Linked DNA regions of Homo sapiens: region 2 is linked to region 1. The links are contacts of gene promoters, found by promoter capture Hi-C in human tissues and cell types (Jung and others, 2019). All regions are on one chromosome and are shown on one strand. Each heading gives the region's core, a stretch centred on a gene start or on the middle of the fragment in contact. The rest is flanking DNA. Distances are from core to core; before and after follow the strand shown. Region 1 holds the start of NPHP4 (nephrocystin 4). Region 2 overlaps AJAP1 (adherens junctions associated protein 1).

Region 1 (3,875 bases), core at 335-2,834:
TCCAACCTCCAAAATGAGAGCTGTGAAATCTCCTTGAGATCTCTGCTTCTGCTGATCTATTCAGCAACTATTTCCCGAGCACTTGTGTTCCAGTGCATAAGAAGGCTGTCAAATGTGCTGTCTTCAAGCATCTAGAAAGCCAGTGGGGGAGAAAGACAAGAAAGTGACTGTGAGCAGCAACAGGCCCCCGGGAGGGTGCAGAGGTGAGCAGGGCTGAAGGAAGATGCAGGGGGTGGGAGGCGCTGTCAGGGTCCGGGAAGCCTCCTTCCCGGAATGGAAAATGTGTAATGCCTGAGACCCAGATGCCTTGGGGAGCTTTTGGGGAAGCAGAGGTCTGATTAAGCACTGCCTGGAATTCCCTCATTCATGAGCATTCTTTCAGCACCTACCCTGCGCCCGGGAGAAACGGTCTTGAACACAGCAGACAAGCTCGCTACCCCCATAGAATGTAAAGAAACGGGGCACAAATTAGCATACAAAAAGACACAAGTGTGACCTACGGAAACTGCACAGAGGAGGTGCAACGAACGGAGCCCTGGGTTAGGACCGGGAGGCGCTGCCCACCATCAACAGAAATACTCCTCCTTTTGCCAACTACACACGCGAGAGGCTGGATTTCCTTCACAGACGTCCACCAAAGCCACACATCGCGACACACGGAGGCAGAAAGCAGCGGTCTCCTAAGAAGTTAGACACGAGGAATCTCGGGCAGCGAGGTGCCTGCAAGCCCGGGGGCGGGCGGGAGCAGCCTGCACGCGTGGGGAAGGGCACGCGGGAGCGGGTGGCGCCTTCCGGGCCGGGTCGGCCGGGAGGTTCCAAGGCAGGAAAGGGGCGCAGAAGGCCGGGACGGCGCCGGGTACAAAGCCTCGCAGGGACGCCCGAAGGCCGCAGAGCCACCGCGGGGAACTGACAGCCGGAGCCGGAGCTGGAGCCGGGGGGCGGGGAGGAGGGGCGGAGGGGCGCGGCCAGGCGGGGTCCGCGGACTCCGGCCTGGGAAGGATGCGCGCGGACTAGGGCGCGGGGAGCCAAGGCCCAGAACATCGGTACCGCGCTCCCTTCAGCCGAGGGGCTGCAGAGAGGCCAGGGGGCAGGGGGCAGGGGGCAGGGGGCAGGGGGCAAAGGGCAAGGGCAGAAAGGAACCCACGTAGCCAAACGGCACCCAGCGGCCCCGACCCCAAGTGTCCCGACGAGGGGGGACGCCTGCGACTAACGCGGGGACAGCCCCCGCCGCGCGCCACCGCCGCACCCCAGGCACCGGGCCCCCACGCAGGGACGGCGTGGACCACCCTACCCCCGAACCCCGAGGCTCTGGCCAACACTGAGGCCCCCTGTGCCTCGAGGCCGCGTCCAACCTCCCCCGCGGCGCCGGCCCACATGGTTCCGCCCGCCGCGGGCCGCGTTACCTAGGAGACCGACCCGCCGCGGCCGCGCCGGAGGCCACGGAGCCCACGCTTTTCAGAGAGTCTCCACTCGACGGACCCAGAGGCCCGGCGGCCGGTGCTCAACGGAGCCACAAGCCTGAGGACCGAGGACTGGCCGAGGGGCGCGCCCCGTCCGCTGCCACCCGCGGGAGGAGCCTCGGAAGGCGGCGCACCGCGCCGCACACTCAGTCCAAGAACCCGCCTCGCGTCACTGTCGCCGTCAGGGCCGCGGAGCCAATCAGAGCCCAAGTCGAGGGCTGCGCTTTGCGAGCGCCAGCCAATCGGTGCGGCGGCGGGCCCATCCTGATTTGCATGTCCGACGACCCCTCAACCAATGGTAATGTGACTGGCGTGAACAATAGCCAATCAGAAGCTGGAAGAGGCGTGGCCCCGGGCGTCCCACGAGGTGAAGATGCTGCTGGCGGAACCTGCAGGAGCTAGCGGGATTCGGGGGCGCTAAAGTCGCAGGGGCAGGGCGGGAAGGAAGATCCGGCGCGGGGCACAGGATCCGGAGCTGGAGCCCCCAGGTGAGTACCGGGGAGACCCCGGCGGGGCGCGCTTTCCACCAAGCTGCTCCGGGACGGCGGCGGCGGGTATCCGCGAGGCCCGCGCTGCGGCAGGCGCCGCGGTCCCGTCTCCATCTCTTCTTCCCCGGCCCTGCGTCCCTGCCTCCGCCGCTGTCTCACCTCCTCTCCAGCCTCCTCACCTCCTTCTCCATCGTCTCCCTTCCCCCATCCCTTTCTGTCTTTCCTTCCCTGTCCTCCCGCCCGCCCGACCCTTCAGCTCGCATCCCTGACCCCTGCCCCTGCCGCCGTCCCTCTTCCCGGTGCACCTCTTCCCCATCTCTGCCCGCTCCGGTCCTAGCAGCCTCGCCCTCCCCTTTCCTCCATCCTCCTCTCATCCCCTCTCCCGGCCTCTGCGCAGCCCCACCGGGGCGCTGCTGTTCCCGGTCCTCCCCATCTCTCCTCCTGATCGCTTCTCAAGGCTCATCCGTCGTTCTCGCTGCCTGTCCCTGTGTCGCTCCGGTCCCTTTCCCCACCCTCCCATTCTGCCCCCAGCCCCTCCGACCTCTCCCCGCGGGCACGCTCTCACCACCTTACCCTGCTCCCCAAGACTGTGACCCTGCTTCCTGCACCAGTTCCTCGGGCTGTTTACAGCACACACACCGCCACTTCTGACCCTGAGCCCCTACTCCTATCTTAAGCTTCTCCCTCCTGCCAGGCCTTGGCACAAAGCACTTCCGCACCTCCCTACCTGCTGCTGCTCCCAGGATGCAAAGACCCCACTGCTGCACCGCGTCCTGCGGCATTAGCAGCAGCCGGGGTACCTGCCCACCTTCCCACCCCGCCAACCAGCCGCATCCTGGTGTCCCTCCTCCTGGCATTTGTCCTGGGGGCTCTTACAGGGACTGTGCTTTGCCCGCAGCATCCCGGGGTGCTCCAGGTGGAAAGCCCCTTAGCACCTTTCCTCCCTGGCCACCGTCTCCTTCCCTCCCCACCCCCACTTTCCTGCTCAGCCTCACTTTGTGATTCAGCATTTTTGGGGTTGGTAACTTTCTTGCTTCCTGTCGTGATAGGGACCTGGCTACGGAGCTGAAGGCAGGGGTCTTGACCCTGCGGTTAGCAGGGCCACCTTAGGAACCAGACCTGAGCTGCCTGGTTGGGAGGGGGCTGAGGAGCTGGGGACCGCCACTGGGGGTTGTCTTTTCCTCCCTTTCATTTGTCTGCCCTGTGTTGAACTGTGTCCAAGGGGAGATGACATAAGTAATAGCTCTTGGGGAAGTGGGCTATTAGCATTTATGGAAATTAATACATCCACATCCGAGGAGCAAGAACACCAAGTTCAGGCCACAGCTGTCCCACTGTCTGTCGTTTCAGGATTTTTTCTTTCTCTGCAACTTCTCCTCCCCGACAAAAACCCCAGCCTCACCCCTCCCCTTTCCCCCAGTGCCAAGAGTAAGCTCCTGCTCTGCTAAGGAAGCCGCATTCAGGCCCCGCGTTGCAGGTTGCAGGGTTTGGGGACCTACGTGTGGAGAGTCACATCTGCCCACCTGATTCTCGCCTGGCGGCCGTGTCTGCTGCAGAGCCCTGTGCAGCTCCTGGCCCTGTGCTCTCGCAGTGTGGGGCCCTAAGAGTGCACTTGGTCCTCCAGGTCCTGTCATTGTCTCCACGGCCACACTCGGCCTCAGTGGCACTGACAGTGTTCGGGCCGCAGCACATCCCTCGAGAGCAGCATGGTAGGGGCTTCCCTGTTGACACCCAGGGCCATTTTTTTTTTCCCTGCGCCAGTCAGCAAATGCTTTGTAGGTGCTAGTCAACACCTGGGGGCTGAGCCAGGCACTGGAGTTGGGGGGTGTCGTGAAAAAGTGTGAAACCCTTTTCGTGTGTTTCTTGGTTGAGAACCGTCTTGGGTCTGGATTTGGAGCCTGGATGGGAAGCAGTGTGCACAGAAGCC
Region 2 (4,250 bases), core at 747-3,246, 1.3 Mb before region 1:
CTGCTGCAGAGGCCAGTGTGCACCGGCCTTGCCTCCTCGTGTCATTTTTGGGGCTAGTGTCTTAGTCACGCTCCTCCGATTTCCTCATCTTCCATGTACTTGCGCATTCTTTATTTTTTTTAACCAGTTCCAAAAAAAGATGATTTGTGTGAAGGGAGTGAAAATTGAGTTTATTTACGACAAATCAGTAGAATCCAAACTTTGGCAAAGAAATCCAGAAGAGGCCACCCGCTTCTGAAACACATCTGGGTGCATCACAGAACGTGAAGCTTCCGGTCCAGCTGGCTTGGTTAGACTCTGACCCTAGCTCTCGTCGTCCTGGGGGCCTGAAGCCACCTGCATTACCCCTTCTCAGAAACAGTGAAACCAACGCTGCCTCAGGGACTCTGGGAAGTCAGCTTTGAAATCATGTGAGACTGAGAGAGAGGGGCCGTTCCTTGGGAAATCCAGCCCACAAAGTAATCAGGAGATGATGGGGGGACGGGAGTGAGGGAGACTGGATTGTCGGGTGCCCAGCTCATCTGTCATCTGGCCTTTGGGGACAACATACTCTCAAACAGATCTTTGCTCTCAGTATTTGCACCAAGGGGGACAGGTGGCACAGAATTAGCCACTTGAAGTTTTTAGCCTGTAGATGCCAAAAGGGGTATTGCATTCTCGAATTTGCCAAGAGTGGGAAGAACATGTGCAATGCTGTTGGCTACAGAGTTTCAAAGAGAAAATAAAATGGCCAGGGGCCGTGGCTCACGCCTGTAATCCCAGCACTTTGGGAGGCCGAGGCAGGTGGATCACCTGAGGTCTGGAGTTCGAGACCAGCCTGGTCAACATGGTGAAACCCCGTCTCTACTAAAAATACAAAAGTTAGCTGGGTGTGGTGGCGTGTGCCTGTAATCTCAGGTACTTGGGAGGCTGAGGCAGGAGAATTGCTTGAACCTGGGAGGCGGAGGTTGCGGTGAGCTGAGATCGTGCCACCGCACTTCAGCCTGGGCGACAAAAGTGAGAATCCGTCTCAAAAAATAAAAGAAAAGCAATGAACCCAAATGCCTCTAATGCGATGCTATGAATTTCACATGATCAGAGGTTGGTAAGTCTGGGTAAGTGACATGTGGCTGGGATGCTGCCAAGGGGGACCCGCCAGCAGACAGTCAGGGTGGGCTGCAGTTGCCTGCAAGTTCTCGCTTTGTAGGGCTCCTAAAGGTTGAGGATTCTGACCTCACACATCCCTGATTCCACGAATAGAGAGGCTGCCCTGTGTGTACAGCTGCCCGGCTAATTAATTGCTTTTATTTGTAGTAAATAAACTCTTCAAATGCAGGAGGGCTTCCACAGGAGCTGGCCAGCGGCTTTTCTCTCCTCTTTCCAGAGGGGATTCCACCTCTCTCTGGGTCCACTCTGTGACGCCAAGCAGATGACAGAGAAGGGATTAAGGAGGGAAGGAAGGATTAAAAAAAAATTTAACATCTGAAACCAAGGCTTGCCATTCAGCGGGCATAAAGCCAGGGTGTGCAGGAGAAACTCTTAAAAAGTCAGCCAGCGGGTATTCATATGGGGCAGATGATATTCCAGGTAATGCTCCGAATGAAAATGATGTGCATTCAAAAAAAAAAATCATGTGCCTATGTGTTGAGGTCATCAGAAGCCAGTAGCTAAATATATCTCATAGGTGATGAAAATGACACAGTTCCTTTCTCTGTCCATTGTGGTGCTGGAGCCAACTATTGCTTCCAGTTGGAATGCCAACTCACTAATTTTCGTAAAACATATAAATATCAGGTGAGGAGGAGTGCTTGTTATGTTCATGAGTAGCACATTTCCTGGTGGCTCGTAGAGGATGTCGATCAGCCCTGGTGCCGTCAGATGGTGGGTACAGCAGCCCCCAGTGGGGTGGGTTGATGCATTTCCCACATACAGCAGAGAAAGCCATGCCAGCAAGACTGCAGCAGGGTGTCCCTTTGGCCAGTGCTAGGGACTGTGTTGAATTACCATCTCCCTTGTGAATCTTTCCTGTGGCCTGAAATTCATAGCATTCCTTTGGGTGCAGTTGAAGAAGAACAAATATTTGTGAAGCAGTTAGAGTGGTGTTGGGTAGAAATGAGCACTTGAAATTGTATCACAAATATGAGTGAATCTGGTCTAGGAGTGTGCACTACTATCTATTGGTTACATACTGCTCATTCACAAATGACAACTCATACATATTATCTCACATGTTCCCTGGGTCAGGAGTCTGGGCACAACTTAGTTGGGCCCTGTGCAAGGCTGAAACCAGATGTTGGCCGGGTCTGTGATCTCATCAGAGGCTCAACTGGGGAAGGATTTACTGCCAAGCTCATGTGGTTGTTAGCAGCATGCATTTCCTTGAAGGCTGCCTGACAGAGGGCCTCTGTTTTCTGCTGGCTGTCAGTGCCTTGCCCTGCAGCCCTCTCCAAATGAGAACTCACAATAAGCCAGCAAGGGAGAGAGTACCCTAGCGAGATGGATGTTACAATCTCATGTACCGTTATCACAGAAGTAACATCATCACCTTTGCTGTATCCTGTTGGCTAGAAGTGAGTCATGGGTCCCACCCACACTCGAGGGAGTGCACCATCTAAGACTGAACACCAGGAGGTGGGGACCCTGCCTGCCTCCTTAGAGCATGTCCACCACTGCGGTCATTTGCTCTCTTTGGGCAGTTCCAAATAATCACTAACATTTATTGACTCAACAGGACTGTGAGCCAGATGCATCTCATTTAAAACATCTTATGTAATCCTCATAACAACCGAGTAGGTATGCTCCTATCCTAATCCTCATTGCACAGCTCAGAAAGACAATTCCCAGAGATGTTCAGTAACTTGCACAAGGCTACATAGCATGCATTCAAACTGCACAATCAGGTGCACCTGCCCTTAACTGCTTCATCCTAGAAGGCCAGGGGCAAGCTGCTGACCAAGACCTGGACTCTGGGAGACAGCTCAGTGCCATGCATTTGCCAGCTTTCTCAAGTTTGGAAGAGAACCATCCTATTTCAAACTGCAGCCTAACACTTGGGAAACCTGCTGCCTGACGTAGTAATTTCTCTTGACAGTACTCATCACCATGGGATCCACTGTGCACTTTACACATTGGATTCTCTCCTGCTTGTCTCCTCTCCTGGGACCTGAACTCCAGGAGGGCAGTGGGTTTTGTCCCATGTCCCCAGCTACTAGAACAAAGACCCACAAATAGCAGGCACAGGAGAAATATCTGAGTGATGAATGAATGAATGAATGAAAGTTATTTATATTCTGGAATCTTTATTAGGGGCCTCAGATCATAAGTGACCTGAGGACTTCAGGCTGTCTGCATTAGATTAATGTGGCCACCATAAAGTACTACAAACTGGATGGCTTAAAATGATAGAAATATATTACCTCATAGTTCTGGAGACTAGATGTCCAAAATCAAGGTGTTGGCAGGGCCATACTCCCTCTGAAATCTGTAGGGTAGAATCCTTCCTTGCCTCTTCCAGCTTCTGGTGGTTGCTGGCAGTCCTTGGTGTTTCTTGGCTTATAGATGCATCACTCAAATCTCTGCCTCCACTTCACATGGCCTTCTCCCATCCACATGTGTCCTTGCCTCTTCTTATAAAGACATCAGTTGTATTAATCAGGGTTCTGCTTAGAAACAGAACCAATAGGGTGTGTGTGTGTGTGTGTGTGTGTGTGTGTGTGTGTGTGTGTGTAGAGAGAGATACTTACAAGGAGTTGGCTCACATGATCAGGGAGGCTGAGAATCCCCAAGATCTGCAGCCAGCCAGCTGGAGACCCAGGAGAGCTGATGGTGTAAGCTCTCATTTAATACTGTAGAACTGAGAACCAGAAGAGCTAATGTTATAGTTCCAGTTCAGAAGCTGGCAAGCTTGAGACTCAAGAAGAGCTGATGTTTCCGTTTGAGTCTGAAGGCAGGAAAAGACCAATGTCCCAGCTCAAAGCAGTCAGGCAGAGAGTGTTCCCTCTCTGTCAGTCTTCTATCCAGGCCTTCATCTGATTGGATGAAGCCCACCCACATTACAAAGAGCAATCAGCTTTACTCAGTCCACTGATTCAGATGTTAATCCTATCCATGAACACCCTCACCCATACACCCAGAGTAATCTTTGACCACACATCTGGGCACCCCGTAGCCCAGTCAAGTTGACAAGTAAAATTAACCCTCTCACCAGTCATTGGATTTAGGGTCCATGGTGATCCAATATGACCTCATCTTAAATACATCTTCAAAGTCCC

What was found. Contacts are between HindIII fragments. The study calls those that stand out against the background at their distance.
Region 2: a fragment that was not itself captured here is called in contact with the fragment with the promoter of NPHP4 in region 1 in 1 of the 25 tissues and cell types used here (dorsolateral prefrontal cortex).

What each region holds. Positions count from the first base shown.
Region 1 is chr1:5,990,841-5,994,715 of GRCh38, forward strand. NPHP4 (nephrocystin 4) reads right to left here and starts at 1,585. Exons shown (of 30, transcript NM_015102.5): 1 at 1,404-1,585. It also overlaps a transcript of KCNAB2 not described here. RefSeq lists enhancers at 154-1,008, 2,885-2,934 and silencers at 1,085-1,264, 1,415-1,584, 1,625-1,804, 1,885-2,134. The HindIII fragment of the contact is 9,165 bases long and covers 1-3,875 here.
Region 2 is chr1:4,676,147-4,680,396 of GRCh38, forward strand. All of the region lies in intron 1 of AJAP1 (adherens junctions associated protein 1), which reads left to right. Among named protein-coding and RNA genes, the nearest start is that of AJAP1, 24 kb to the left of the region's middle. The HindIII fragment of the contact is 5,641 bases long and covers 1-4,250 here.